Linked DNA regions of Homo sapiens: regions 2, 3, 4, 5, 6 and 7 are each linked to region 1. Evidence: promoter capture Hi-C in human tissues and cell types (Jung and others, 2019). All regions are on one chromosome and are shown on one strand. The core of a region is centred on a gene start or on the middle of the fragment in contact, and the rest is flanking DNA. Distances in the headings are between cores, read along the strand shown.

Region 1 (4,125 bases), core at 661-3,160:
TCCCTCTCTGTGCCTTGGTTATTCTATCTGATAAGCAAGAAGCTTGGGACAGACAAAATGTCTGTCCTTGGGGCCTTGGGGCTCTGTGCATTTACCCTTCAGCCTGGGATCAGCCCCGCCCTGTCTGAGCCTCAGTTTCCCCATCAGTAATTTGATCGTGATGGCCGAGGTGACCCTGCAAGCTGTCCTCACCCAAACAATGGGGCTCACTAGTAAAAGGTGTGGCCATCAATAATGGATGTCCTGTTACTACACAACTGGGGCCTTGGCCCCGATCACACTGCAGCTGAACCCTGGCCAGCTTGGGTTTCATAGCTCCAAGTTCATGGGTCGGGGCCCCTGGGCAATGGCCCCACAGGCCGAGTGATGATGTGGGATACTCATCTGTGCCCATCGTGCTGGGTCACGCCAGGGACCTGCAGCAGCCTTGGGCCACCTCCTCACACCCTCATCTTAATGCCAAGCCCACAACCCAGACTGGGCTCTGGACTTTGCACCTGGGCTCCCAGCCTCAAGTCCCAGTCTCAGGAGAATCTTTATCTTTCATTTTGTTTTTCTGAGGCAGAGTCTAGCTCTGTCACCCAGGCTGGAGCACAGTGGCGTGATCTCGGCTCACTGCAACCTCCACCTCCCAGGTTCAAGCAATTCTCCTGCCTCAGCCTCTTGAGTAGCTGGGATTACAGGCACCCACCACCTCGCCCAGCTGATTTTTGTATTATTAGCAGAGATGGGGTTTCACCATGTTGGCCAGGCTGATCTTAAACTCCTGACCTCAGGTGATCCACCCACCTTGTCCTCCCAAAGTGCTGGGATTACAGGCATGAGCCACCGCGCCCAGCCTCAGGAGAATCTTTCTAACGTGCTGATGGTCTCTCCCCTGCTCATGCATGCTCCATAGCTCCCTGCCACCCTTGGGAGAAAGCCCAAGCTCATCAGCCTAGAGACTGGGACAGTATGACAAGATGTGACTTGTCAGCTTCTCCATCTCTGCCTCTGTCCACTGACCACACCTGCCCCCCTTCCCCATTTGAGTCCCAACAAATTGGAAATACCAGTTGGGCATGGTGGCTCACACCTGTAATCCCAGCACTTTGGGAGGCTGAGGCAGGGGGATCGCTTGAGCCCAAGGGTTTAAGACCAGCCTGGGCAACATAGTGAGAGCCCCATCTCTATAAAAAAATACAAAAATGAGGTACATGTGGTGGCTCGCACCAGTGGTCCTAGCTACTCGAGAGGCTGAGGTGGGAGGATCACCTGACCTTGGGAGATCGAGCCTGCAATGAGCCATGATTGCACCACTGCACTCCAGCCCAGGCAATAGAGACAGACCCTGTCTCAAAAAAAAAGAAAAGAAGGAAGGAAGGAAGGAAGGGAGGGAGGGAGGGAGAGAGAGAGAGAAAAGAGAAAGAAAGAAAGAAAGACTACTTACACACACACACACACACACACACACACACACACACACACACACCAAATTGCAAATATCCTCCAGCAATGAATAGAAAGTTGTTTTTCCAGATCTTCTCTCCCTTCCTCCCTGGACTGACCTCATGATCTCCTTCCTTGTGAAAAATGTGCAGTCCTGTGGAGAGAGGTGTTGTCTTAACCCGAACCCTGCCTCTGGGGCCTCCTCCCACGGCCTCCTCCCTCCACCCCACACTCACACAGATGGCCTGATGCTGCCACACACAGAGCAGAACCAGGAACCCAGGCGGACGGTACACCCAGATGAAGGCATTCTGTTCCCATTTCCCAGACCACGGAACCAAAGTTGTCAAACCCACTGAGGACCCATCCTGCCCCCCTCTACCTGATACGCTTCCAGCTGCTCGTGTGTGAAGACTGTCTGCTTGTTGCCCATGGTGTGAACCACAGCCCAGACTTGGGGATGCACCCCAAAGGCTCCCAGCTTCCTCGGGGCCACACGGGTTGCCAGGCTGTTGTGTACCAGTGTCTGGGCAAATCTCCCTGCCCTGGCTGTCACCCACCCACCTACGCCATCACCCCCTGCTTGATGAGACTCAAATTACAGCCAGGCTCTCTGGACAACAGCCTGAATGTGTCCATGGGTAAGGATAAGGGCTGTGGGATGTCACAGAGAAGACCTCAGTGGGGAGGCCACATCTGCCACCACAAGGTGAGGCTGGGGTTATGGGGCACACTCAAGAGACAGGCAGGGTATACAGAAGGGCTATGGGCACACTGCAGCTCAAATCCCAGCTCTCTGCCCACTAGCTGTGTGGCCCTGGGCAAGTCACCTGACTTCTCTGAACCTCATTCATGAGATGAAAATTACATTATACCTACCTCATAGGGTCATTCTCAGGATCTGAGATTTAAAAAAAAAAAAAAAAGGTTTTGACTGGGCAAGGTGGCTCACACCTGTAATCCCAGCACTTTGGGAGGGCCAGGCAGGCGGATCACCTGAGGTCAGGAGTTCAAGACCAGCCTGGCCAACACGGCAAAACCCCATCTCTACTAAAAATACAAAAATTAGCTTGGCATTGTGACACATGCCTGTAATCCCAGCTACTCCAGAGACTGAGGCAGGAGAATTGCTTGAACCCAGGAGGTGGAGGTTGCAGTGAGCCGAGATCCCGCCATTGCACTCCAGACTGGGTGACAGAGTAAGACTCCATCTCCAAAAAAAAAAAAAAGGTTTTGGCTGGGCGAGGTGGCTCATACCTGTAATCCCAGCACTTTAGGAGGACAAAGCATGAGATTCACTTGAGGCCAGGAGTTCAAGATCAGCTTGGGCAGCATGGCAAGGCCCTATCTCTACTAAAAATACAAAAATTAGCTGGATGTGGTGGTGCATGCCTGTGGTCCCAGCTACTCAGGAGGCTGAGGTGGGAGGATTGCTTGAGCCCAGGAGTTTGAGGCTGCAGTGAGCCATGATTGCATCACTGCATTGGGAACATAATGGTGAACAAGCTAGATGAAGTTCTGGGGTGTGCATTGACATTATTATTTTATTACATTTTATTTTTTTGAGACAGTCTCACTCTGTTGCCCAGGCTGGAGTGCAGTGGTGTGATCTCGGTTCACTGCAATCTCTGCCTCCCAGGTTCAAGTGATTCTCCTGCCTCAGCATCCCAGGTAGCTGGGACCACAGGTGTCCACCATGCCAAGCTAATTTTTTTTGTATTTTTTTTTTTTGAGACGGAGTCTCGCTCTGTCACCCAGTCTAGGGTGCAGTGGCGTGATCTCGGCTCACTGCAAGCTCCACCTCCCGAGTTCAGGCCATTCTCCTGCCTCAGCCTCCCGAGTAGCTGGGATTATTACAGGCGCCCACCACCACGCCTGGCTAAGTTTTGTATTTTTAGTAGAGACAGAGTTTCACTATGTTGGCCAGGCTGGTCTCGAACTCCTGACCTCAGGTGATCCACCCGCCTCGGCCTCCCAAAGTGCTGGAATTACATGTGTGAGCCACCTCGCCCGGCCCAAAGGGCAGATCTAATGTAGCAGCTACCAACTTTATTAAGGCCCAGAATCCTCTTGGGTGGAGAATCTGAGAGTCTAAATTTCTTAGCCTGGCCCTCCATGCCCTTCTCACTTTGGGTCTCACCTGTGTTTTCTCTACCTGGCCTGGACTATTGCAATGTTTCCCAGCAGGCTTTCCTGCCTCGGCCTCATCAAGCATCCTCTGCCAAATCTGTGCAGTCATCTTGTAAAATGTGACCCTGATCAGGCTTGAAAGATGCCTCAAGGATGACTTTTTTTTTTTTTTGAGACAGGGTCTCACTCTGTCACCCAGGCTGGAGAGCAGTGATACAATCATGGCTCACTGCAGCGACCCTCCTTCCTCAGCCTCCCAGGTAGCTGGCACTAGAGGCACATGCTGCCACATCCGGCTAATTTTTTTTTTTTTGTATTTTTTGTGGAGACAGGGTCTGTCTATGTTGCCCAGGCTGGTCTTGAACACCTGGCCTCAAGTGATCTACCCACCTTAGCCTCCCAAAGTGCTGGGATTACAGGCATGAACCACCATGCCCAGCCATCCAAGAATAACTTTCAAAAAATAAACAATATCAAGTGTTGGTGAGGGTATGGAGCAACTGGAATGCTCATACATTGCTGGTGTTGATGCAAAATGGTATAGACACTCTGGAAAATAGGTTGGCT
Region 2 (4,125 bases), core at 543-3,042, 1.6 Mb before region 1:
GCTTTGCCGCCTCACCACAACATACTTGCCTCTGTATCTTTGCTTTTTTTTTTTTTTTTTTTTTTTTTTGAGATGAAGTCTCACTCTCTTGCCCAGGCTGGAGCACAGTGGTGTGATCTTGGCTCACTGCAACCTCTGCCTTCCGGGTTCAAGTGATTCTCCTGCCTCAGCCTCCTGAGTAGCTGGGATTACAGGCATGTACCACCACGCCCAACTAATTTTTGTATTTTTAGTAGAGACAGGGTTTTACCATGTTGGCCAGGCTGGTCTTGAACTCTTGACCTCAGATGATCCGCCCACCTCGGCCTCCCAAAGTGCTGGGATTACAGGTGTGAGCCACCATGGGCAGCCTGCATCTTTGCTTTTAAGATAGTCCCTGCCTAATGTGCCTCTTCCTCACCTCACAGTTATCGAATCACTTTCTTCCTTTAAAACCCACTTCTTTCAGGGTGCCCACCACCCCTACTTTTCCCCACATCCCCGGGATTGATCCCTCCTCTGAGCCATTCTCGGATTCTGAGCACTGTACATGTGGTTTTTGAGCGCAAGCGTGACCCACTGGAATGTGGACACAGTGGGGAACACAACCCTTGCTTCTCTCTCTGATGTGTCTGCAGTCCGTGGTGGATGGGTAGGATGGGTTCTCAGTCTGTAGCCCTCAAGCCCATCCCTTCTGACAGTGACTGGCATGGCAGGGCTAGCTGGCCTGAAGCATGACATTGCCCGTGTAAGAGCTGACACCAACCAGTCCCTGGTGGAACTTTGGGGCTTATTAGGTAAGTGAGACTTGGGGAATTGCCCAGGGATGGGGGGCATGGCAGAGCTGGCACATTACATCACTCCATTGAAGTCATTCTCAGTGCAGTCTATGTGAATGGTGCCCCTCCCCCTCACCGGAGTTGAGCAGTGTACAGCCTGCACAACTGTACATGGCATACTATGTACATGGCTCAGGTTCTGGGGCCATCCTGACAGCATTCTGTCTGGTTCCCAGACTGCCGCCGAATTACCTGTCCTGAAGGCTGGCTGCCCTTTGAGGGCAAGTGTTACTACTTCTCCCCAAGCACCAAGTCATGGGATGAGGCCCGGATGTTCTGCCAGGAGAATTACTCTCACTTGGTCATCATCAATAGCTTTGCTGAGCACGTGAGTTCTTCCCACTGAACCTTTGAGAACCTTCAGGGACAGCCTGCTTCTCTTCCAGGATGCACACATCCCTCCCTTCCCTGGATGGCAAGAAATTAGAATTACTTTTCAGTTACTAAAACTTTAACAGCAAGCTCTTCCTAAGGTAGTATCATGCAGAGGTTAAGAAGACATGCTTTGTTTTTGAGTTCAAATTCTGGTTGTGTTGATTTAACCTCTGTACATTTCAAGTATCGGTTTTATCTCTAACATGAAAATACAATAATTAATATCTGTTAGGTAGCACTTTTTATGTTTCAGGTTGCATTCCAAATACTTTACATCTTACAGTCATTAACACATGCAATCCTCACGACAACCTATACATTAGTATGCCAGTCGGAAGAGTTTATTTCTTTTCTTTTCTTTTTTTTTTTTGAGATGGAGTCTCGCTCTTTCACCCAGGCTGGAGTGCAGTGGCTGGATCTTGGCTCACTGTAAGCTCCGCCTCCCGGGTTCACGCCATTCTCCTGCCTCAGCCTCCTGAGTAGCTGGGACTACAGGTGCCCACCACCACGCCCGGCTAATTTTGTTTTTGTATTTTTAGTAGAGACAGGGTTTCACTGTGTTAGCCAGGATGGATGGTCTTGATCTCCTGACCTCGTGATCTGCCCGCCTCGGCCTCCCAAAGTGCTGGGATTACAGGCGTGAGCCACCACGCTCGGCCTTCTTTTTTTTTTTTTTTTTTTTTTTTTTTTTGAGATGGAGTCTCACTCTGTCACCCAGGCTGGAGTGCAGTGGTGCAATCTTGGCTCACTGCAACCTCTGCCTCCCGGGTTCAAGCAATTCTAGTGCCTCAGTCTCCCGAGTAGCTGGGATTGCAGGCATGTGCCACCACGCCTGGCTAACTTTTGTATTATTAGTAGAGATGAGGTTTCTCCATGTTGGCCAGGCTGTTCTCGAACTCCTGACTTCAGGTGATCCTCCCACCTCTGCCTCCCAAAGTGCGGGGATTATAGGTGTGAGCCACCACGCTGGGCTAGGAGGGGTTACTTTATGCTGCGGTAACAGACAGTCTCCATAGTCCAATGGTGAAAGTAGACGAGGGAAATCATACATTGACTGTCAGAGTTTCCATTTACTTTTGCTCACAAAAGTCACATGTACACGCCTATCTTTTAAGGTGGTAGGGAAATAAGTCTCACCTCCGTGCAACCAGAAGGAGGATTGGAATATGGGTAAATAGCTTTAATGATTTGCTACTACAATTTAGGTAGTATTACTATTTGTACACAATATGTATCATCTGTACTTCACAGGTGAGGAAGTCAAGGTTCCAGTACATGTAAGCAACTTGCCTGGAGTCACTTACAGCTAGTGGGATTTAAGCCTAGGTAGCCGGCTTTCAAGTCCATGGTCTTGACCATAGACATAGGACTATAGTATGGTTTATGTTTCCTTTTTTCTGTTTTTCAGGGACAAGGTCTCACTCTGTCACTCAAGCTGGAGTGCAGTGGTATAATCATAGCTCGTTGCAGCCTCAAAGTCCTAGGCTCAAGCAATTCTTTCGCCTCACCCTCCTGAGTAGCTAGGACAACCAGGCACTTGCCACTGTACCCAGCAAATTATTATTATTATTATTACTTTTTGAGATGGAGTCTCGCTCTGTCACCCAGGCTGGAGTGCAGTGGCGCGATCTCGGCTCACTGCAAGCTCTGACTCCCGGGTTCACGCCATTTTCCCACTTCAGCCTCCCGAGTAGCTGGGACTACAGGCGCCCGCCACCACACCCAGCTAATTTTTTGTATTTTTAGTAGAGACGGGGTTTCACTGTGTTAGCCAGGATGGTCTCGATCTCCTGACCTGGTGATCTGCCTGCCTCGGCCTCCCAAAGTGCTGGGATTACAGGCATGAGCCACCGCGCCTGGCCCAGCAAATTATTTTTACTTTTGTAGAGACAGGGTCTTGCTATGTTGCCTAGGCTCTATGTTTTCTATTCATTTTATTTTTAATTTATTTATGTCATTATATTTAAAATGTTTTTTTTTTCCCAGACAGTATATAGTTGGGTTTGGATTTTTAAAATCTGATCTGATAATCTCTGGCTTTTAATTGGTGTTTTCATTTACTTATTTATGTATTTTTGGAGACAGGGTCTCACTTTGTCACCCAGGCTGGAGTGCAGTGGCGCAGCCTCAGCTCATGGCAGCCTTGGCCTCCTGGGCTCAAGTGATTATCCCACCTCAGCTCCCCACCAAGTAGCTGGGACAACAGGTGTGTGCCACCATGCCTGGATAATTTTTAACATTTTTTGTAGAGATGAGGTTTTGCTATGTTGCCCAGGCTGGTCTGGAACTCCTGACCTCAAGTGATCTGCCGCCTTCACCTCCCAAAGTGCTGGGATTACAGGCATGAGCCACTGTACCCAGCCTAATTGGTATTTTTAGACCGTTTACATTTAATATAATTACTGATTGGGTTGGATTTAGGTCTATCATCTTATTATTTTCCTGTATGTCGTGTCCCTTCTGTTTTTTATCCCTCTGTTTCATAGCATTATTTGTATGAGTAGTTAAACAGTTTTTTTTTTTTGAGATGGAGTCTTGCTGTGTTGCCCAGGCTGGAGTGCAGCAGCATGATCTTGGCTCACTGCAACCTCTGCCTCCCGAGTTCAAGTGATTCTCCCGCCTCAACCTCCCGAGTAGCTGGGATTACAGGCGCCCACCACCATGCCTGGCTAATTTTGTACTTTTGGTAGAGATGGGGTTTCTCCATGTTGGCCAGATTGGTCTCGAACTCCTGACCTCAGGTGATCCACCTGCCTTGGCCTCCCAAAGTACTGGGATTACAGGCATAAGCCACCGTGGCTGGCCAAAACAGGGCTTTTGAAGGAGTTAAATTAGGTAATGTAAATGAGGCAGGTGCAAATCATATTCCCTAACTCAGTTTCACAAGAAATACAACTACATTTCCTTTAAATTACTCATTTTAGTTTCTCTC
Region 3 (4,125 bases), core at 864-3,363, 1.5 Mb before region 1:
CTCCACTTCTCCAGCCTCATTTCCTACCCTTCTGCTTCAGCCTTTCCACCTTCCCTGATACATTTTCTGTTTCCCTAAACTCCACATTCTATTTGTAGCCTTTCATGCCTTTGTACATGTGATTCTCTCAACCTGGAATGCCCCCCCATTTTTTTTTTTTTTTGAGACAAAGTCTCACTCTGTCACCCAGGCTGGAGTACAGTGACATGATCTTGGCTCACTGCAATCTCCGCTCCCCGGGTTCAAGCAATTCTCCTGCCTTAGCCTCCTGAGTAACTGGGACTATAGGTACCCGCCACCATGCCTGGCTAATTTTTGTATTTTTAGTAGAGATGGAATTTCCTCACGTTGGTCAGGCTGGTCTCAAACTCCTGGTCTCAAGTGATCTGCCTGCCTTGGCCTCCCAAAGTGCTGGGATTACAGGTGTGACCCACTGTGCCCCACCTGGAATGCCCTTTCTTTTTCTTTCTTGCCACTCTACTCCTGGCCACGTCCTTCAAGTGGCATTCTTTTGCATGTCCTTCCATGATAAACTCTTGTGAAAGGAAAATAAAGTCTCAGGACTCCAATTCAGGAATAAAATTAAGCTGAAAGCGGAGTCAAGCAGACAGCTACAGATAAAAGGCCAGATATCTTCACAGGTAGCTACTGTATATTCATTTTATCTTACATAAAGTGCCGATTTACTGAGCACAAGGTGAATACATCATTGACTAGTCCCCCACCTGCTCCTTTTATCTCTGGCAACACATTGGTTCAGTAATGTGACCAAACTCTCCCTCTTTCCCCTCCAGTCTGCTTTTCCCCCTTAAATATTGAAGCCCTCAAAATTATCTTTGGAGAAACAAACAGATGATAGTATGTTTTTCTGTGTTCCTTTCTTCCAGGCATGTTCTTGACCCTAGCAAAATAAGCTTCTAAATTGATTGAGACCTGTCTCAGTTACTTTTGGTTTATACTCTCCACTGTGCCCTTCCCTGCCTCTAAGATAGAGTTAGCTTCTCTCATTTCTCTGTTCATATCCTATTTCATCAAATCTAAAGCATTATTAATTTTAAGGTACACCATTGGCCGGGTGCGGTGGCTCATGACTGTAATCCCAGCACTTTGGGAGGCTGAGGTGGGCGGATCACTTGAGGCCAGGAGTTTGAGACCAGCCTGGCCAACATGGCGAAACCCCATCTCTACTAAAAGTACAAAAAAGTAGCCAGGCGTGGTGGCACGCACCTGTAATCCCAACTACTCAGGAGGCTGAGGCAGAAGGATCGTTTGAACTCAGGAGGCTGAGGTTGCAGTGAGCCAAGATGGTGCCACTGTACTCCAGCCTGGGTGACAGAGTGAGACTCCACCTCAAAAATAAATAAATAAATAAAGGTACACCATTATTTTATGTACCACTACACCTAACCATTAAACTATGATACAATGCTTTATTATTCTTTATAAATTTTTATTTTATTCTTGAATGAGCTATAATAGATTTATTTAGAAATGAATATTTATCATGCATGGCTCTGTTGCATGCATACAAAAGAAACTAGCAGCGGGAACTAAATTTGTTAAGATGTTCTTGAAGCTTCTTCATATTCAGAATCTTCTAAATTACTTTCAGCACAGTCATTGGTGCCCATGTTTCAATTTCCATGTTTCTCTATGTCAGTAGTTCTCAAGATGTGGTCCCCAGATCAGTTGCATCAATATTGTCTGGGAATTTGTTAGAAATGCAGATTCTTGGGCCTGGTGTGGTGGCTTATGCCGGTAGTCCCAGCACTTTGGGAGGTCAAGGTGGGCAGATCACAAGGTCGAGAGATCGAGACCGTCCTGGCCAACATGGTGAAACCCTGTCTCTACTAAAAATACAAAAATTAGGCAGGAGTGGTGGTGGGCACCTGTAATCCCAGCTACTCAGGAGGCTGAGGCAGGAGAATCGCTTGAACCTGGGAGGTGGAGGTTGCAGTGAGCTGAGATCACACCACTACACTCCAGCCTGGGGACACAGTGAGACTTCATCTCAAACAAATAAATAAATAAATAAATAATGCGGATTCTTGGACCATATCCAGACCTGCTGAATCAGAAATGTTGAGATAGAGCCCAGTGAGTGTTTTTTAACAGACCTTCCAAGTAATTCTGATACATGCTTAAGTTTGAGAACCCAGCTTTGCATGGTATTGTTCTCTGGACCATCAGGAGTACTGTGATGTAGGATTTATTCAAAGAACCCATGAGAGAGCCAGAGGCCATTGCTAGTTCTCTGCCATCCTAACATTGCTTAGTGGGGCACCTGAGAATAAATCAAATGTTTTCCAACTGTGATGACAAATGAGATTATAATTCCTTTTCGTAACCAAATTATTGTGGTATAATATTCCAGGGGCTTTCTTGCTGGAAATCTAAAAGTGTGTTCTCAGTTATCTCTGAGAGTTTCTCACAGGTTCACCTCATAGATGTCCCTGAATAGCCCTTTCCATCCTTCCATGCATCCATCCATGCATCCATCCATGCATCTATCCATTTATCCATCCATCCATCCATCATCAATCCATCCATCCATCATGCATCCATGCATCCATCCATCCATCCACTCACCCAGCCATCTACCTTTCATCCGTTCACTCACCGACCTATTCTTCTTTTCATCCACCAACCCATTTATGCACTCATCCATCCACTTAGTCACACACTCAACTTTTCATCTTGGGTGATGGAGGTTGGGATGCTTGTGATTTTGGTGAGGATAGAGATTGAGATGCAAATTATTTTTGGTGTGGGATAGAGGCTGGGATGCACATGGTTTTTTAGGGGGATAGAGGTTGGAATGCACATGATTTTTGGGGAGTTAGAGGTTGGGATTCTTGAGGTTTTGGGGGATACAGGTTGGGATGCATGTGATTTTTGGGGGGATAGAGACTGATATGCACATGCTTTTTTGGGGGGATAGAGGTTGGGATGCATGTGATTTTTTGGGGGTAGGGTTTGTAATGCACATGATTTGTTGGGGGTAAGGGTTGGGATGCACTTGATTTGTTTGGGGGATGAGGATTAGAATGCACCGAATTGGCCAGGCTCCGTGGCTCACACCTGTAATCCCAGCACTTTGGGAAGCCAAGGTGGGTGGATCATGAGGTCAGGAGTTCAAGACCAGTTTGGGCAAGATGGCGAAACCCTGTCTCTAATAAAAATACAAAAAATTAGCCAGGCCTGGTGGTGGGCATCTGTAATCCCAGCTACTCGGGAGGCTGAGGCAGGAGAATCACTTGAACCTGGGAGGCGGAGGTTGTGGTAAACCAAGATTGCGCTGTTGCACTCCAGCCTGGGCAACACAAGCTCCCTCCCCCCCGCAAAAAAAATAGAATTTACCGAATTTTGAGTGGAGTGCAGCTTTCATAATGCACATGATTTTTGGGTGGGGTTTATAATGCACAAGATTTGCTGGGGGGCAGGGTTTAGGATGCATTTGATTTGTTGGAGGGATAAGGGTTAAAATGTACATGATTTTTTTTTTCTTGGGTGCAGGGAGTGGGATGCACATGATTTTTGAGGCATAGAGGTTGGGATGCCCATGACTTTGGGGGTAGGGGTTATAATGCATGTGATTTCTTACAGAGGGGTTACTCCTAGAAGAAGAGAACTGAAGAAGGATAGGACAGAGGAAGGAGCTGAACAAGGAGGTAGTCTTAGCAAGAGTCTAGCCTCAGCCTAATCCCATGGGGAGCTCTGGACTGTGCACCATGGAGTTGATCCATCTTGAGGCAGGGCCCTTATACAAGGCCCTTATGTCAATCAATCATTGGCTGTGGCTGCCCTGGGCGTGGGTGCAAGCCAAACCTCACAGGTAAATGAATGAATGCAACCATGAAGAGCAACTGGGTGGAGCTCCAGGAGCATCAACTGCATTGCTCAAACCTTTATCTGGGTCATGCTCACCCACTGCCTCAAACGTTGCTACACAGAGTATGAATGTCACTTCCTCTTCATTTTAAAGTGTTCAAAATAACAATTCTCATTAGCCGTGTTGCAACATCACATGATAAATATGGGGGTGAGCAGCTTCCACATGATTCTTTTTTTCAATTTCTGTTGTTATTTCTCATTGAAAAAATAAGAATTGTATATATTGATGGG
Region 4 (4,125 bases), core at 932-3,431, 1.3 Mb before region 1:
AAAAAGACAAAAAGGTAGCTATAAGGAAAAAGGGTTATAAAATAAGGTGGAAATACATATGATTTACTTCTACTAAAGATGCAGAAGAATTTTCTAAGTTAAGAAAAATTGGAGAGTGTGGGTTCATGATAGGACCAACTGAGAGATTTGACAAAGTTTATAAAACAAAGTTTATAAACTTTCTTTTCTTCATCCTGTATATATATATATATATATATATTTTTTTTTTTTTTTACACAATCCCTTGATGTACATCTATACATACATAAAAAATTAACTATTATTCAGCAAACTTGGTGAAAAATCTCTAATTCTTCATTTGAATGAATGCAATCAAAAGAATAAAAACACTCACACTCTAGAACATAAAAGCAAAGAACCTGCAAAATCTGCAATAGAGAAAGTAAATGGCTAACAAACCAACAAATGCTGTATACTCAGCCTCAGCAGAAAGGAAATAATTGCAATTAAAAACTCTTGAGTAATCCTAATTTGACCTATGAAATAATATTTTTTCAAGTGATTATGAAAAATAATCCAGAGATGTTTCTCAACATCCTACAACTAACGGGACAGCCCACACTACAGAAAGTTAAGCAGTAAAAATGTTAACACTAGAGAGGTTGAAAGGCTATTCTGTCCAGAATATGTCCAACTTCAATGTGTGTATGATTCAATTAGGGATCTTGTTCAAATGTAGATTCTCATATGGGGCCTCTAGGATAGGTCCAGACATTCTACATGTGTAATGGTTTCCCCGTTGATGTTGATGCTCCCTGACCTGTTGGGTGGTTCACTCTTTGAGGATCAAGGCTATGGTCCAGTGTTAGAGTCAATTAGTACTTCGAGATCTTCTCCAGCAAGAATCCTACCACACACCTCATATTTGACTTCAGGTGGTCAGTGTTGGACTGGGCAGGTCAGCTTTTGCATAAATAAAGATTGCATGTGCCTCTTGTGTGCTTCTCTCATGAAAGAAAATGAAACCTTTAGAAATTCCATCTACTGGCTGGGCGCTGTGGCTCACGTCTGTAATCTCAGCACTTTGGAAGGCTGAGGTGGGTGGATCACAAGGTCAGGAGTTTAAGACCAGCCTGGCCAATATGGTGAAACCCAGTCTCTATTAAAAATACAAAAATTAGCTGGGCGTGGTGGCACGTGCCTGTAGTCCCAGCTACCTGGGAGGCTGAGGCAGGAGAATCACTTGAGCTCAGGAGGCAGAGGTTGCAGTGAGCCAAGATCGTGCCACTGCACTCCAGCCTGGGTGACACAGTGAGACTCTGTCTCAAAAAAAAATTCCATCTACTTATGGAGTTTATGTGAGAAGTAAGCAATATTTTGAAGCTCATTGGAGATTACCTTGCACAGAGCAGATGCTCAATGGATATGTCAGCTCTTCTTGACTATGTCTTTAGTTCATCAAATTACTCCTTCAATTCTTGTAGGAAGTCTTATAAGAACTCCTTTAATTCTTCATAGAACACTTACTTTATTGCAAGTTTATAGCACATCATTCATTAACATTTAATGTGGACATAAGTATGAAATTCTTGCAAGTCTGTTTCTCATGCCAGTAAATTTAATTTTTACTTATTTATTAACTCCCCTATTGTCTTTGGGAATATTGTGTTTCTCCACCTTTGGCTCGGGGCTTTGCTAATACCTCAATTGGGAGGCATGTATATCCCTACAGTGGTTGATGTGGAGCATAGATATGTGATGTGCTTTGTCTGAAAGAATGTGCGCATTCATGAGAAGTCCAATGTCTATGAAGAAGTTGTAAGAGGCCTTGTGAGTTTCCACCACTTCTCTTGATCTTCCTCTGTCAAACTGTCCTTCCTATTCAAAATTCAAAAACTAACTAGATTTGGATAGTCGCATGGATGGAATATTTTGTCCTCTTCAAAATCCCTATGTCCTAATCCCAATGAAAAACTTTCCCAACATAAACTCCTATGTGATAAAAAAGCAGGACATTAAACCGTTGACTAATGGGATGGCTTATTATGCAGCAGTAGCTTACTGATACAATAAACAGTGCAAACAGATCTAAAGACATTCAAAATATTCTAATGCTTCTTAGTTTTTAACATTGGTTCTTATATTTGAGGCAGCATTAATGATTACCTGGATATTGATGCTTATGTCAGATAATTGTATTAAAACGAGAGTATTGTTTCCTTTTTTTCTAGGCAGCCAGGAAAGCTTGCAAGGACATATATGTTTTTGAAGGAATGAATTGTGACCTTGGTTCACACAAGTTTCTATTCCCAGAGGCAATAATAGGCAGAAATCCAAGTTCATGTGTGTGTATTCCTTTGATCGTGAGAGTTGAAGAGAGTTCAGAGTATAAAATATATAAAGCAACTGCTGATAAATGAAGCACACATATTGTTCACTTATCTGCACTTTAATGTTTATGACACAATTTTTAAAGGGGAAGATATTTGTTAGTACAATGGAAGGAGTCGTATTTATAGGTAGCACTGGAAAATTTTAAGTAAAATGAGGAAGCTAATACAATAAAATTATATGGACTATGACACCAAATCTCTCAGATGCACAAACTTCATTACACATGGACACTAAGCTTGTATGCTTCAAATGTTCCACAGTAATTCCATATGTGACTGAAAGTTTTATTCTGTCATATTGAAGGTAATTGCTGAGTCTTAAGGCCAGATGAAGTCAATTTATGTATGCTCACTTGTCTTTCTGTTTAGTTTACACTTGGAACATGTATTTTATAAGCAATTTTTAATCCCAGCACTTTGGGAGGCCGAGGTGGGTGGGTCACGAGGTCAGGAGATCGAGACCATCCTGGCTAACACAGTGAAACCTCGTCTGTACTAAAAATACAAAAAATTAGCCGGGCGTAGTGGCGGGCGCCTGTAGTCCCAGCTACTCGGGAGGCTGAGGCAGGAGAATGACGTGAACCCGGGAGGTGGAGCTTGCAGTGAGCCAAGATCACGCCACTGCACTCCAGCCTGGGAGACAGAGCGAGACTCTGTCTCAAAAATCAATCAACCAATCAATAAAATAAAAAAATAAAAAATAAGCAATTTTTGTCCTCCTTCTTTTTACCAGGGAATATAGAGGGCACTGTAGACACCAAGCAGAATAGAAGACAGGATCCTAAGGAAGAGAATAAAATTCCAGGAGTAGCTATAAAACACACTAGTATATTAAAATTTACATTGTGAGGAGGACCAGTTAAGGCAGTGACAGAGAAAGAAATAACAAATGGAAAAATGAAAACCTGTGGTCTCAGCTAGGCATCCACAGTAAAATTATATTAATGACCTTAGAGTGGCCATTCTTAATTATTTGGGCTAACACAACTCATTACTGCATGAGACGGATAGGAATCTCCACCTTGTTTCTGACCCTAGTCTGGGAATAACTTTGCAAAAGTTGGAAAATGACAAAGGACAAAAAAACTGTTGGCTGTTTGAGAGCTGAAAGCTTTTAAAGAAAAGGCATACATTTTACAAAGCAGTTAAGATCATACAAATCCCAAAAAATTAACAGAAGGAACCACTTCTGTTTTCACAATCTGACTAATAAATCACAATGTTTGGGTCTGGGGCTTACAGCTCTGGAATCACAGACCCTTCTTGAAAAATGGCTCTTTTAAAAAAATTTTTTTTTTTTTAAATTTTGAGACAGAGTCTCACTCTGTCTCCCAGGCTGGAGTGCAGTGGCATGATCTCAGCTCACTGCAACCTTGCCTCATGGGTTCAAGCGATTCTCCTGCCTCAACCTCCTGAGTGGCTGGGACTACAGGCGCATGCCACTACGCCCAGCTAATTTTTGTATTTTTAGTAGAGATGGGGGTTTCACCATGTTGGCCAGGCTGGTCTTGAACTCCTGACCTCATGATCTGCCCACCTCTGCCTCCCAAAGTGCTGGGATTACAGGCTTGAGCCACTGTGCCCAGCCGAAAAATGGCTCTTTTATTGTTTCCCTCTGAAGAATTGTGTCAGAGCCCCCTTTATGTCTTTATTCCTCAGACTGTAAATGAAGGGGTTGAGCATGGGGGTGACCACAGTGTACATCACCGAGGCGACAGCAGTTGAGTGTAAGTTTTGGGTCATAGTAGAGCTAAGGTACACCCCTAGCCCC
Region 5 (4,125 bases), core at 1,194-3,693, 1.3 Mb before region 1:
ATGAGACGTGATAAAATAAAAAGAATGTTATGGGATTAAAGCCAGGGTAAATGTAGTGATTTCCAAACAACTATATTTTTTAAATGTTATGGTACATAAAACGTTAACCAAGCCAAGATAAACAATAAGAATAATTTAATGATATCAAATGATTTAGTTTATTGGCAAAGACCTAGACATAAAATTATATAATACACAATGTTTCTAAAATGTTCTGGCACATAGAAGATACTCTCGACTTATTGAATAAGTCAGGAAGTAAGTCCTAGTATATATGGGTATTAAAATATGACAAGATTGCAATCCAATTTAGTTGCAAAAGACCAGATTGTTGAATAAAAGCAGAAATAAATAGCTATCTACCTGGGAGAAAATGAAGTGTGTCTCCCGACTCACATTTTACAAAGAATTAGCAGATTTAAAGACCTCAGTGTAAAAGTCAGCAATATATGTTAGACGAATACATAGATAACTACATATAAGATCTTAGTGTAGACAAAGTATTTTAACTAACGCAAGAAAAAAAACTAAGAAAGTAGACATATTTTTAGGTAAATAAAAGTTAAAACTTTTTATGACCAAAAATGTTTCCTTAAATATTTCATTAACAGTCAATGAGGAGGGCAATATAATTGGATCACAGCTGTAATCCCAGTGCTTTGGGAGGCTGAGTAGGGAGGTCACCTGAAGCCAGGATTTTGAGAACAGCCGGGGCATCATAGTGAGAACCAGGCTCTAAAAAGTAAACCAAAAAAGTTAACGATCCCAAAGAAATACAAACTCCCATCAGAGAATACTATAAACACCTCTATGCAAATAAGCTAGAAAATCTAGAAGAAATGGATAAATTCCTGGACACATACACCCTCTCAAGACTAAACCAGGAAGAAGTCAAATCCCTAAATAGACCAATAACAAGTTCTGAAATTGAGGCAGTAATTAATAGCCTACCAACCAAAAAGAGGCCCAGGACCAGTCAGTTTCACAGCTGAATTCTGCCGGAGGTACAGAGAGGACCTGGTATCACTCCTTCTGAAACGATTTCAAACAATGGAAAAAGAGGGACTCCTCCCCAGCTCAATTTATGAGGCCAGCATCATCCTGATACCAAAACCTGGCAGAGACACAACAAAAAAAGAGAAAATTTCAGGCCAATATCCCTGATGAACATCAATGTGAAAATCCTCAGTAAAATACTGGCAAACTGAATCCAGCAGCACATCAAAAAGCTTATCCAGCATCATCAAGTCGGCTTCATCCCTGGGATGCCAGGCTGGTTCAACATATGCAAATCAATAAATGTAATCCATCACATAAATAGAACCAATGACAAAAACTACATGATTATCTCAATAGATGCAGAAAAGTCCTCCGATAAAATTCAACTCCCCTTCATGCTAAAAACTCTCAGTAAACTAGGTATTGATGGAACATAACTCAAAATAATCAGAGCTATTTATGACATACCCACAGCCAATATCATACTGAATAGGCAAAAGCTGGAAGCATTCCCTTTGAAAACTGGCACAAGACAAGTGTGCCCTCTCTCACCACTCCTATTCAACATAGTGTTGGAAGTTCTGGCCAGGGCAATCAGGCAAGAGAAGGAAGTAAAGGGTATTCAAATACAAAGAGAGGAAGTCAAATTGTCTCTGTTTGCAGATGACATGATTGTATATTTAGGAAACCCCATCGTCTCAGCCCAAAATCTCCTTAAGCTGATAAGCAACTTCAGCAAAATCTCAGGATACAAAATCAATGTGCAAAAATCACAAGCATTCCTATACAGCAATAATAGACAGAGAGCCAAATCATGAGTGAACTCCCATTCACAATTGCTACAAAGAGAATAAAATACCTAGGAATATAACCTACAAGGGATGTGAAGGACTTCTTCAAGGAGAACTACAAACCACAGCTCAAGGAAATAAGAGAGGACACAAACAAATGGAAAAACATTCCATGCTCATGGAAAGGAAGAATCAATATCTTGAAAATGGCCATACTGCCCAAAGTAATTTATAGATTCAATGCTATCCCCATCAAGCTAACATTGACTTTCTTTACAGAGTTACAAAAACTACTTTAAATTTCATATAGAACCAAAAAATAGCCCGTATAGCCAAGACATTTCTAAGCAAAAGGAACAAAGCTGGAGGAAATGATTGGCTCTCAGGTGACCTCAGGTTAATATTCACGGCTCTTGTTCTTCCTGACCTTTCCTACAGTACCCACTGGGCTCTGGGACTTACCCTACTGAGTTTTCTGAAAGGAAGGTCTCCATGGAGAAGTGTAAATTCCTCTCTAGCAGGTTGATGGTGGAGATGGAATCTCTGTCTCAAGACAAGGCATCAGGAAAAGTTGAAGCATCATCTATACTTGAGCCAGACTAAGGACTCCAAATGAAACCACCATGTCATTTCCAGCCCAAGGTTGCATATGCTGAGGGACTGCAGCAGAGGAGATATTTATGGCTTCGTATATCTGCTGATTAGATACCTTTCCTCCTGTTATTCCAACTCTGAACACATCAGTTTCCTGGGGGACGTTGCCCTGCACTGAAACAAATGTCATTGTTGTTTTTTTTTTCTGTATCGTCTATTCCCAAGACACTATGTTAAAAGTGAGGTGTATCCAGGCTTTATTACTCCTTCCCCGTGGACTTCCTTGGCTTCCAGAGTCCCATTCTCCTAGCACCTTCTCCCAGCCTTCAGTGAAAATTTCCTCCAAAGTCTAAACTGAGGAACCTGTCTTGACTAGGTCCCTTGAGTCTCCAAAGCACTGGCTTGTGATGGAAACTCAGCTCTTGACATATCCAGAAAATGGCAATTTACCTTTGCAAGGAGATGAACTGTGTTCTGTTCATATAAAACCATGGGTACTACATTTCTTGGCTTCATGTTGCTTTTGCCAAAACATTAGAATTTCATATATATATTTTTTTGAGATGGAGTCTTGTTGTATCACCTGAGCTGGAGTGCAAAAACATTAGCCGGGTGTGGTGGCAGTTGCCTGTAATCCCAGCTATGCAGGAGGCTGAGGCAGGAGAATTGCTTGAACCCGGGAGGTGGAGGTTGCAGTGAGCCAATATGGCGCCATTTCTCTCCAGCCTGGGTAATAAGAACAAAACTCCATCTCACTAAAAAAAAAAAAAAAAGTGTTAGAACAGGCAAGCAGGATCAACTGATTAAGTTCACAGAAAAAAATGGGGGGATTTCCAAGTTTGTGCAGAAGGACAGCTGCAACACATTCTGCTTTGCAGTGAGGAATTCAGGGCACTCATGCTCCAGGACACCAGAACCCACAGTCCAAAGATCCCAGGATTCATGATGACCCTGTAGTGCAGGGGGTGACAGATGGCCACAAAGTGGTCATAGGCCATCACAGTCTGCAGAAATACATTCATCCCTGCAAAGAGTAGGAAAAGTTTGTGATTCTGGAAAAGTTTCTTGGGAAAGGACATGCCTTGCTTCTCGGAGACAGAAATTTGTGATCATGAAGGGACACCTGCTTCCAGGGGTCCACACGGGGAGGAGATTGCATGAGTGTCCTTCCACGTCTGCTTTATTATACTCAGGGACATCTTCTCTGTCCTCCTCTGCCTGGCTCCAAAAATTCACATTAAAAATGTTTAGACTCCTTTTATTTTATTTTATGTTCTGGGGTACATATGCAGGATGTGCAGGTTTGCTACATAGGTAAACGTGTGCCATGGTGGTTTGCTGCACCTATCAATCCATCACCTAGGTATTAAGCCCCACAGGCATTAGCTAGTTTTCCTAAGGTTCTCCCTCCCCCCCACCCCACCCCCCAACAGGGCTCAGTGTGTGTTGTTCCCCTCCTTATGTCTATATGTTCTCATTGATCAGGTCCCACTTATAAGTGAGTGCATGTGGTATTTGATTTTCTGTTTCTGCGTTAGTTTGCTGAGGGTAATGGCTTCCAGCTTCATCCACGTTCCTGCAAAAGACATGAACTTGTTCCTTTTTATGGCTGCATAGTATTTCATGGGGTATATGTACCACATTTTCTTTATCCAGTCTATCACTGGTGGGCATTTGGGTTGATTCTATGTCTTTGACATGAACAGACACTTCTCAAAAGAAGACATTCCTGTGGCCAACA
Region 6 (4,125 bases), core at 979-3,478, 1.1 Mb before region 1:
GTGTATAACTGGCCCTGCCTTATACCAATTTCCCAGGGGGGGAAATGTTATTTTTGATAACATTTTCTATAGAGTCATATCAAAAAGAAAGGCTTTTTTCTTCCTGAATATATCTTTTATTCCTCCTTATCTCTCTTCACTCTTCCTTCTATAACTGGTTTCAGAATTCCCAGGAGAGTTCGGATGGGAGACACCAATGTCCTACCTACCATGGCTTTGGGCAAAATAATTTTTTTTCAGAACCACGGACAGTGGCAAAAGTTTGTTCACCCAGTGGGACTTTTTTTTTTTTTTTTTTTTGAGATGGAGTCTTGCTCTGTCACCCAGGCTGGAGTGCAGTGGCACAATCTCGGCTCACTGCAATCTTCGCCTCCCAGGTTCAAGTGATTCTCCTGCCTCAGCCTCCCAAGTAGCTAGGATTACAGATGCCCACCCACCATGCCCAGCTAATTTTTGTACTTTTAGTAGAGACTGGGTTTCACCATTTTTCCCAGGCTGGTCTCGAACTCCCGACCTCAAGTGATCCACCCGCCTCAGCCTCCCAAAGTGCTGGGATTACAGGTGTGAGCCACCATGTCTGGCCACCTTATGGACTTTTTAGGTGGGTTTTTCCCCAACCTTTGGGCTCAAATTGATTTTTTTTTTTTTTTTGAGACAAGGTCTCACTCTGTCACCCAGGCTGGAGTGCAGTGGCATGATCTCAACTTGCTGCAAACTTCACCTCCCGGGCTCAAGGGATCCTCCCACCTCAGCCTCCTGAGTAGTTGGGACTATAGGCACGTCCAGCTAATTTTGTATTTTTAGTAGAGACAGGGTTTCACCATGTTGGCCGGGCTGGTCTCAAACTCCTGAGCTAAATTGATCCACCTGCCTCGGCCTCCCAAAGTGCTAGGATTACAGGTGTGAACCACCATGCCCAGCCTCTGAAAATAATTTTAATTTTAAAAAAATAATGACAGTGGGATTGGCACCTACTCATATCCCCATATGTCCAACGCGAAGTTGGTCTACCTTGTTCTTGCTTTGAAGCTGACCTCCCCACAGAGTTACGATCCAAGAGCCAACAGTCCAACAGCCAATATTATTAGGGAAAGTAATTCTAATATTTACTAAAGCCCCTAGGAGAATTTCAACAAGTATCCTACACACGTTCTGTGTGGCTGATAGGAAGGATTTTTTTTTTAAGAGACAGGGTCTCACTCCGTTGTCCAGGTTGGAATGCAGTGGTGCGATCACAGCTCACTGCAGCCTCAACCTCCAGGGCTCAAGTGATCCTCCCACCTCAGCCTCCTGGGTAACTGAGACCACGGGCATGTGCCACCAATCCTGGCTAATTTTTTTAAATTTTTTGTAGATATAAGGTCTTGCTGTTTTGCCCAAGCTGGTCTCAAACTTCTAGGCTCAAGGGATTCTCCAACCTTGGCCTCCCAAGTAGCTAGGATTATAGGCATGAGCCACCGTGTCCAACTCCAGTGCCAAGCAGGTGATCAAGAAGTGTTTGATAGGCCGGGTACAGTGGCTCAGGCCTGTAATCCCAGCACTTTGGGAGACCGAGGAGAGCAGATCACTTGAGGTTTGAGATCAGTCTTTCCAACATGGTGAAACCCTGTCTCTACTAAAAATACAAAGACTAGCTGGGCATGGTGGTGGGCACCAGTAATTCCAGCTACTCAAGAGGCTGAGGAGGGAGAATTGCTAGAACCCAGGAGGTGGAGGTTGCAGTGAGCCGAGATTGCTCCACTGTGCTCCAGGCTGGGTGAAAGAGTGACACTCCATCTCAAAAAAAAGTGTTTGATAAATTTATTTATTTAATACCGATTTATTGATTGATTGATACTCTTCGGAGCTTTCCTTAATGAGCCAGTTTCTTCCATAATGCAATGAATGAAAGGACCTCTCAGATTCAGGCATCTGAGTGCCCGACTGGAGTCTGGGACCCCCCAGACCTCTCTGCCTGGGAGCTTCCATGAAGCTCAGCCTGAGCTGGAAGGAGACCGTAGGGAGATGTCCTAGTGAGAGTGAATCCCTAGTCACTGTTTCCTCTTCTTACCCACTCGATGATCCCAAAGCACACCCATCTCCAAAAGAACAGGTCACATGTGGCAGAGGAGAAACAAAATAATTAGCATCCGCTTCCTTAACAAGGAGCTATGGGGACGAAGTCTCCTAGAGTCCCCAGACTATAAATACCCTGATGTTCCCCTGGCTCCCCCACTCACCTGCAGAGTCTGGGGGCGGGGGGGTACACATATGAATCCTTCCCATAGACATCAGGCTAACCCCAGCGATCACAGGTGAGTAGCCCCCATGCCCTTCCTAGGGGTTTAGTGCTGACCTCGGGATCCTCTAGCAGTTGGTGGAGAAGGAGGCTTCCCGGGACCCTCCCCTTGGTGATGCCATCCTGGTGAGCAGGTGAGGGATGGGGAAAGGATTGAGCTGAGGGTGGGGGTGGAGGGTTGTGGGAGAGGAATCTGTCTCCTTCCTAGAGGCCGAGAGAGAGAGAAGAGACTGAGACCAAGTCTAGACTCTCTGAGTGGACAAAGCACGCAGACGGCAGACCCTCTGTGGCAGGATATGTGGAGGAAAAGCACTGAGGGTCTGCAGCTGCAGGACACCTGCACAGATAGGAGAGGTCTTGAGAAACAAGTTTCTCCAATGCAGCAGCTCCCCAAGTGTGGTCCCTGGGCTAGAAGCACCAGCATCCTCTGGAAACTATCTAGAAGTGCTGGTTCTTACACCAGACATTTCAGGGAAAGGGCTTAGCTTTTTGTGTATGATGAGTTTGGGAGCGGGGGGGAGGGGGCGGGGGGATTGTTTTGTTTGTTTGTTTGTTCTTTCTGTTTTTGAGACAGGGTCTCGCTCTGTTGCCCAGTCTGGAGTGCAGTGGCATTATCATAGCTCATCGCAGCCTCGACCTCCCAAGCTCAAGTGATCCTCCCTCCTCAGCCTCCCGGGTACCTGGGATAACAGACATATACCACCATGCCTGGCTAATTTTATTTTCGTAGAGGCAGGGATCTTCCTATGTTGCCCAGGATGGTCTCACACTCCCGGGCTCAAGAGATCCTCCTACCTTGGCCCCCCAAGCAGCTGGGACTAACAGGTGTGTGCCACCATGTCCAGCTAATTTTTTATTTTGTAGAGATGGGGGTCTCACTGTGTTGCCCAGGTTGGTCTCTAACTCCTGGACTCAAGGGATTCTCCCACCTCAGCCTTCTGAGTAGCTGGGACTATGGAAGCATGCCACCATGCCCAGCAGATTGTTTTATTTTTTGTAGATCCAGGGCGGGATTGGGGGTGGGGTGGCCTCACTTTGTCTGCCAGGCTGGTCTTGAACTCCTGGCCTCAAGCAATTCTCCCACTTCAGCCTCCCAAAGTGCTGGGATTACAGGTGTGAGCCACCATGCCTGGCCCGCTTTTTGTGTTTTAACAAGCCTTCCAGGTGACCCTGAAGCGTGCTCAAGGTTGAGAACCGCTGCTCTATGCAACCCAAGTCAACAACTGAGGACTGTTACAAATATGTTGCCAGGAAGGGAATCGCAGTATTCTATCCAGCCTAGAGAAAACCAAGCATTGCATTGCAAAAACCTCAAGTCCAACACTAAAAAGCCTCAAAAAGTTAACATAGGGCTTTGCTGAAGGCCTCTTGGGGTTACCAAGGAGATTATGCTGCTAACCTTCCTAAAAACCCCTTTCATCGGCTGGGCGCTGAAATGATGAGATTACTGGGCTCACGCCTGTAATCTCAGTACTTTGGGAGGCCAAGGTGGGCGGATCACCGGGTCAGGAGTTCAAGACCAGCCTGGCCAACAGGCTTAGTAGAGGCGAAACCCCGTCTCTACTAAAAATACAAAAATTAATCGGGCGTGGTGATGCACACCTGTAATCCCAGCTATTCGGGTGGCTGAGGCACAAGAATCACTTGAACCCAGGAGACGGATGTTGCAGTGAGCCGAGATCGTGCCACTGTACTCTAGCCTAGGTGACAGAGTGAGACTCTGTCTCGAAAAGAAACACGTGTAAATGCTTGTAATTGAATATTTTTCCCTTGCACGTGTTGACAGCACAGAATTTAGCTTCGAAATGCCTCATAAAGAGGTGAGAGTGGCCATTCTTAGGGAGGCA
Region 7 (4,125 bases), core at 892-3,391, 1.1 Mb before region 1:
GGGTCAATGGGAGGCTCTGGTCAAGCAATGCTGTACCACTGACTGTCACCCAGGTGAGACTGTGCCCTGCCTCAGGAAGCTGCTTTATGCTAACAGAATTCATAACCATTTCATTATATACAATCATCCCCTCTCCCTCCAGCTCCTGAATGCTACTGTGATGGATATCTCTGGGCAGCCACCCCTTTGCTGGTTCCTCTGAGGTCTGACTTCCAGCCAGGGAGGCCTAGGCAGGCTGAGGTATTCACCTTCTTCTCCTGGAAGATGCCAGATAGACGCAAGCCTCAGGTGTGGAAACAAATGGGAATGACCACAGCGGGTGGAGGAAGCTTGGGTCCTGCTCCCCAAAACCTTCTCTATCTCCCATCCCCCAGGAACTGAGCACCCCAGGGAGCTGGTAGAATGGAGATGTAGCCCCACAGAACCACGCCCCATGCCCATAGCCTTGAAAACAGCCTAATTTATTATTCCCTTTGCACATGAAACAGAGGCCTAGACAGAATGTCTGTGTTTGGAGTCCACCAGAAGCCAACCTTGAGACAAGGATTCAAGTATTTAGGAAATAAACAGGAAATACTGTAAGTGGGGTGGATATGTGGGAGAGGGAAGGGAAGGAAGTCAGCAAAGAGTGTATTGATAACCAGGTTTCTACAGTGGACAGCTGGAGCTCAATCCCGTGGGTGAACACTAGGGGTCAGTGTAGAACATGAACCTCAATCATCCAACACAAGGGTGAGGGAGCTGGGGTATTTATCCATCAATTCCCCTTGACTACCACAGAGGTGCTGAGCTCTGCCCAAAACTGACAGGAAATGGTCTTTTGGTCTTTCAACTAATTGGTCTATATGTGTCTGGGGCTGGTTAATCCACCAGGTACCAAAAGCACAGCACATCAGACCTGCAGCCAATGAGAACATTTAGGGGAAAGAAAACACACACGTGGCCAGGTGCAGTGGCTCACACCTGTAATCCCAGCACTTTGAGAGGCCAAGGAAGAAGGATCGCTTGAGGTCAGGAGTTTGAGACCAGCCTGGGCAACATAGCAAGATCCTGTCTCTACAAAAAAAATTTAAAAGCTAGCTGGGTATGGCAGTGCATGCCTATAGGCCTAGCCACTCAGGAGGCTGAGGCAAGAGGATTGCTTGAACCCAGAAGTTCAAGTCTGCAGTGAGCTATGATCACACCAATGCACACCAGCTTGGGTGACAGAGGGAGATTATGTCTCTAAAAATAATAAGGCCAAGCACGGTGGCTCACACCTGTAATCCCAGCCACTTGGGGGGCCAAAGTGGGAAGATCACTTGAGCCCAGAAGTTTGAGAACAGTCTAGGCAACATGATGAGACCCTATCTCCACAAAAAAATAGAAAAATCAGCCTGTGGCATGGTGGCACATGCCTGTAGTTCCAGTTGCTTGGGAGGCTGAGGCAGGAACATCACTTGAGCCTAGGAGGTTGAGGGTGCAGTGAGTTGTGGTAGTGCCACTGCACTACAGCCTGAGCAACAGAGCAAGAAAAATAAATAAAATAATAATAATAAAGTAAATAAAAATAACATGAAAATAATTTTTAAAAAATTTGAGACAGAGTCTTAGTCACCCAGGCTGGAGTGCAGTGGCACGATCTTGGCTCACTCCAACCTCTACCCTCTGGGTTCAAGCGATTCCCCTGCCTCAGCCTCCCGAGTAGCTGGGATTACAGGTGCCTGCCACCATGCCTAGCTAATTTTTATATTTTTAGTAGAAACGGGGTTTCACCATCTTGGCCAGGCTAGTCTTGAACTCCTGACCTCGTGATCCACCCGCCTCAGCCTCCCAAAGTGCTGGGATTACAGGCATGAGCCACAGTGCCCGGCCATGAAAATAAATTTTTTTAAAAGAAAAGAAAATGGGCCAGGCACGGTGGCTGACCCCTGTAATCTCAGCTCTTTGGGAGGCCAAGGTGGATGGATCACAAGGTCAGGAAATCGAGACCATCCTGGCCAACATGGTGAAACCCCATCTCTACTAAAAATATAAAAATTAGCTGCACGTGGTGGTGTGTGCCTGTAATCCCAGCTACTCAGGAGGCTGAGGCAGCAGCATCGCTTAAACCAGGGAGTCACAGGTTGCAGTAAGCCAAGATCGTGCCACTGCACTCCAGCCTGGGCAACAAAGCAAGACTATGTCTCTATAAAAGAAAAGAAAAGAAAATGTACGCATACAGGCTCTAAAATCTGTACAGCAACTAGCAAAATCCACAGGAATAAGCATACAAACATCATTATGAAACTTAGAATTCATAACCATTTCATTACATACAATTTGCAGATAATCTGTTCTCACTTATGGAAATTTCTGATTGCTAAGAAAGAATCAGAGCCAATGGTGAATTAAATAGGCTACATGCAGGCAAATAAAGACAACAGGAAAAGTACAAAAACTCAAAAAGATTTACACAAAATAATAATAATAAATATTTATGTGGTATGTGGGTGTCATATGGGTGGGGCTAAGGGTTGCTCTCACTCCCATGTCAGACCCCAGCTCCTCTGAGACTCTGAAATACCCCATTGGGACCTTAGTCCTGCAGCCTCTACCCTCAACTTGTAAACAGGTATTGTCTTGACCCCTGACTTCTTTCCCCATTGTCAATAGCTGCCTCAAAGACATCTGCGCAGGGATCTCATAGGGAGGAGGGTGCACTCCACCCTTTTACAGACTGATGCCCCCCAAACACACATATCCAAGAAAAGTGAACAGCACCTAGGAGAACTGTATATCAACAGTTGTATAATGAGTATACCAATATATGCATAATGAGAGTCCCAGAAGGAGAGAAGTGAAAGGAGCAGAAAGAATATTTGATGAGGCTGGGTATGGTGGTTCATGCCTATAATCCCAGCACTTTGGGAGGCCAAGGTGGGCAGATCACTTAAGGTCAGAAATTTGAGACCGGCCTGGCCAACATGACGAAAACCCATCTCTACTAAAAATACAAAAATTAGCTGGGCATGGTGACAGGCACCTGTAACCCCACCTACTTGAGAGGTTGAGGCAGGAGAATCACTTGAACCCAGAAAGCAGAGGTTGCAGTGAGCCAAGACCATGCCTCTGCACTCCAGCCTGGGCAACAGAGTGAGACTCCATCTCAAAAAATAATAATAATAATATTTGATGAAATAATGGCCAAAAAACTTCCCAGAAGCCCAGAATTGATGAAAGACATGAATCTACATATCCACAAAGCTCAACAAACTCCAAGTACAATAAACACAGAGAACCACACAAAGACACATTAAAACCAAACACACACAGCCTCCTCGTCCAGGCCTCTTGGACACCCCCTCCTATACAGACCTCCATCACCTGACACCTGATCTCCTACCTGAATATTCAGCAGTGAACAACATAGACAAGCATCACTTGATCACTTGGTGGAGACCCAGTCTGGACGAGGAGGCAGATAAACTAGAACAAACCACTGGGACTGTTAAATTCAAGTTGTGGCAAGTGTTAGAAGAAAGGAAACTGAGTAATGTGATACTGACTAGACAGAGGTGGTGGACAGAAAGGGTCTCCCTAGAAGGTGCCATTGGACCTAAAGGATGAGAGAGAGGTGGCCTCAGAAGAACCAGGGCTTCCCAGGCAGAAGGAACCATGTGTGCAAAGGACCTGAGGCAGAAATAGCTTGATATGAAGGAGAACCAGAAAGGAGGCCATGGTGAGTGAATGGGACAGCCAAAGAGATGAGGCTGGAAGTCTTGTGAGACCATGCTGGGAATCTGAATTTTATTCTAGGTGAGGTGAGCAGTCATAGGAACACTATTCAGCAGGATGGTGCCACAATCTGATTTCAGTTTTAAGTCCACTGTGGGTAATATATGGAGAATGAAATGTAGGGCTAAGACAGGTTATATTTTCCCAGATGGCCACAATATCTCCCACCCTACATCCACTTGTACAATGTCACCTTGACATGCCTCCCATGTAGAGAGGTATAATCTGTGCCCCCTTTCCTTGAATCTGGTGGCAGAAGTGACACAGCATGACACTCAAGGCTGGGTCAGAAGAGATGCAACTTCTTCCTTGTTCACTTTTAGAGGGCTGGGTGGCTGTCTAAGAAGTCTGACTACCCCAAGACCACCA

What was found. Contacts are between HindIII fragments. The study calls those that stand out against the background at their distance.
Region 2: a contact is called between a fragment that was not itself captured here and the fragment with the promoter of CIB3 in region 1, in 1 of the 25 tissues and cell types used here (dorsolateral prefrontal cortex).
Region 3: a fragment that was not itself captured here is called in contact with the fragment with the promoter of CIB3 in region 1 in 1 of the 25 tissues and cell types used here (dorsolateral prefrontal cortex).
Region 4: a contact is called between a fragment that was not itself captured here and the fragment with the promoter of CIB3 in region 1, in 1 of the 25 tissues and cell types used here (dorsolateral prefrontal cortex).
Region 5: the fragment with the promoter of OR7A17 here is called in contact with the fragment with the promoter of CIB3 in region 1 in 1 of the 25 tissues and cell types used here (dorsolateral prefrontal cortex).
Region 6: the fragment with the promoter of OR1I1 here is called in contact with the fragment with the promoter of CIB3 in region 1 in 3 of the 25 tissues and cell types used here (dorsolateral prefrontal cortex, heart right ventricle and mesenchymal stem cells).
Region 7: a fragment that was not itself captured here is called in contact with the fragment with the promoter of CIB3 in region 1 in 2 of the 25 tissues and cell types used here (dorsolateral prefrontal cortex and lymphoblastoid cells).

The regions. Positions count from the first base shown.
Region 1 is chr19:16,171,615-16,175,739 of GRCh38, forward strand. It overlaps CIB3 (calcium and integrin binding family member 3), which reads right to left and starts at 1,911. Exons shown (of 6, transcript NM_054113.4): 1 at 1,811-1,911; 2 at 1,548-1,582. The coding sequence starts at 1,861. The HindIII fragment of the contact is 31,728 bases long and covers 1-4,125 here.
Region 2 is chr19:14,599,037-14,603,161 of GRCh38, forward strand. It overlaps CLEC17A (C-type lectin domain containing 17A), which reads left to right. Exons shown (of 14, transcript NM_001204118.2): 11 at 681-776; 12 at 995-1,146. It also overlaps a transcript of ADGRE3 not described here. Among named protein-coding and RNA genes, the nearest start is that of CLEC17A, 18 kb to the left of the region's middle. The HindIII fragment of the contact is 8,373 bases long and covers 1-4,125 here.
Region 3 is chr19:14,679,721-14,683,845 of GRCh38, forward strand. No RefSeq gene overlaps it. Among named protein-coding and RNA genes, the nearest start is that of ADGRE3, 6.9 kb to the left of the region's middle. The HindIII fragment of the contact is 3,768 bases long and covers 230-3,997 here.
Region 4 is chr19:14,859,830-14,863,954 of GRCh38, forward strand. It overlaps the pseudogene OR7A2P. Among named protein-coding and RNA genes, the nearest start is that of OR7A10, 13 kb to the left of the region's middle. The HindIII fragment of the contact is 3,510 bases long and covers 427-3,936 here.
Region 5 is chr19:14,883,689-14,887,813 of GRCh38, forward strand. OR7A17 (olfactory receptor family 7 subfamily A member 17) reads right to left here and starts at 2,444. Exons shown (of 3, transcript NM_030901.2): 1 at 2,253-2,444. It also overlaps the pseudogene OR7A18P. The HindIII fragment of the contact is 7,391 bases long and covers 1-4,125 here.
Region 6 is chr19:15,079,983-15,084,107 of GRCh38, forward strand. It overlaps OR1I1 (olfactory receptor family 1 subfamily I member 1), which reads left to right and starts at 2,229. Exons shown (of 2, transcript NM_001004713.2): 1 at 2,229-2,294. The HindIII fragment of the contact is 16,029 bases long and covers 238-4,125 here.
Region 7 is chr19:15,100,983-15,105,107 of GRCh38, forward strand. No RefSeq gene overlaps it. Among named protein-coding and RNA genes, the nearest start is that of SYDE1, 4.4 kb to the right of the region's middle. The HindIII fragment of the contact is 6,045 bases long and covers 1-4,125 here.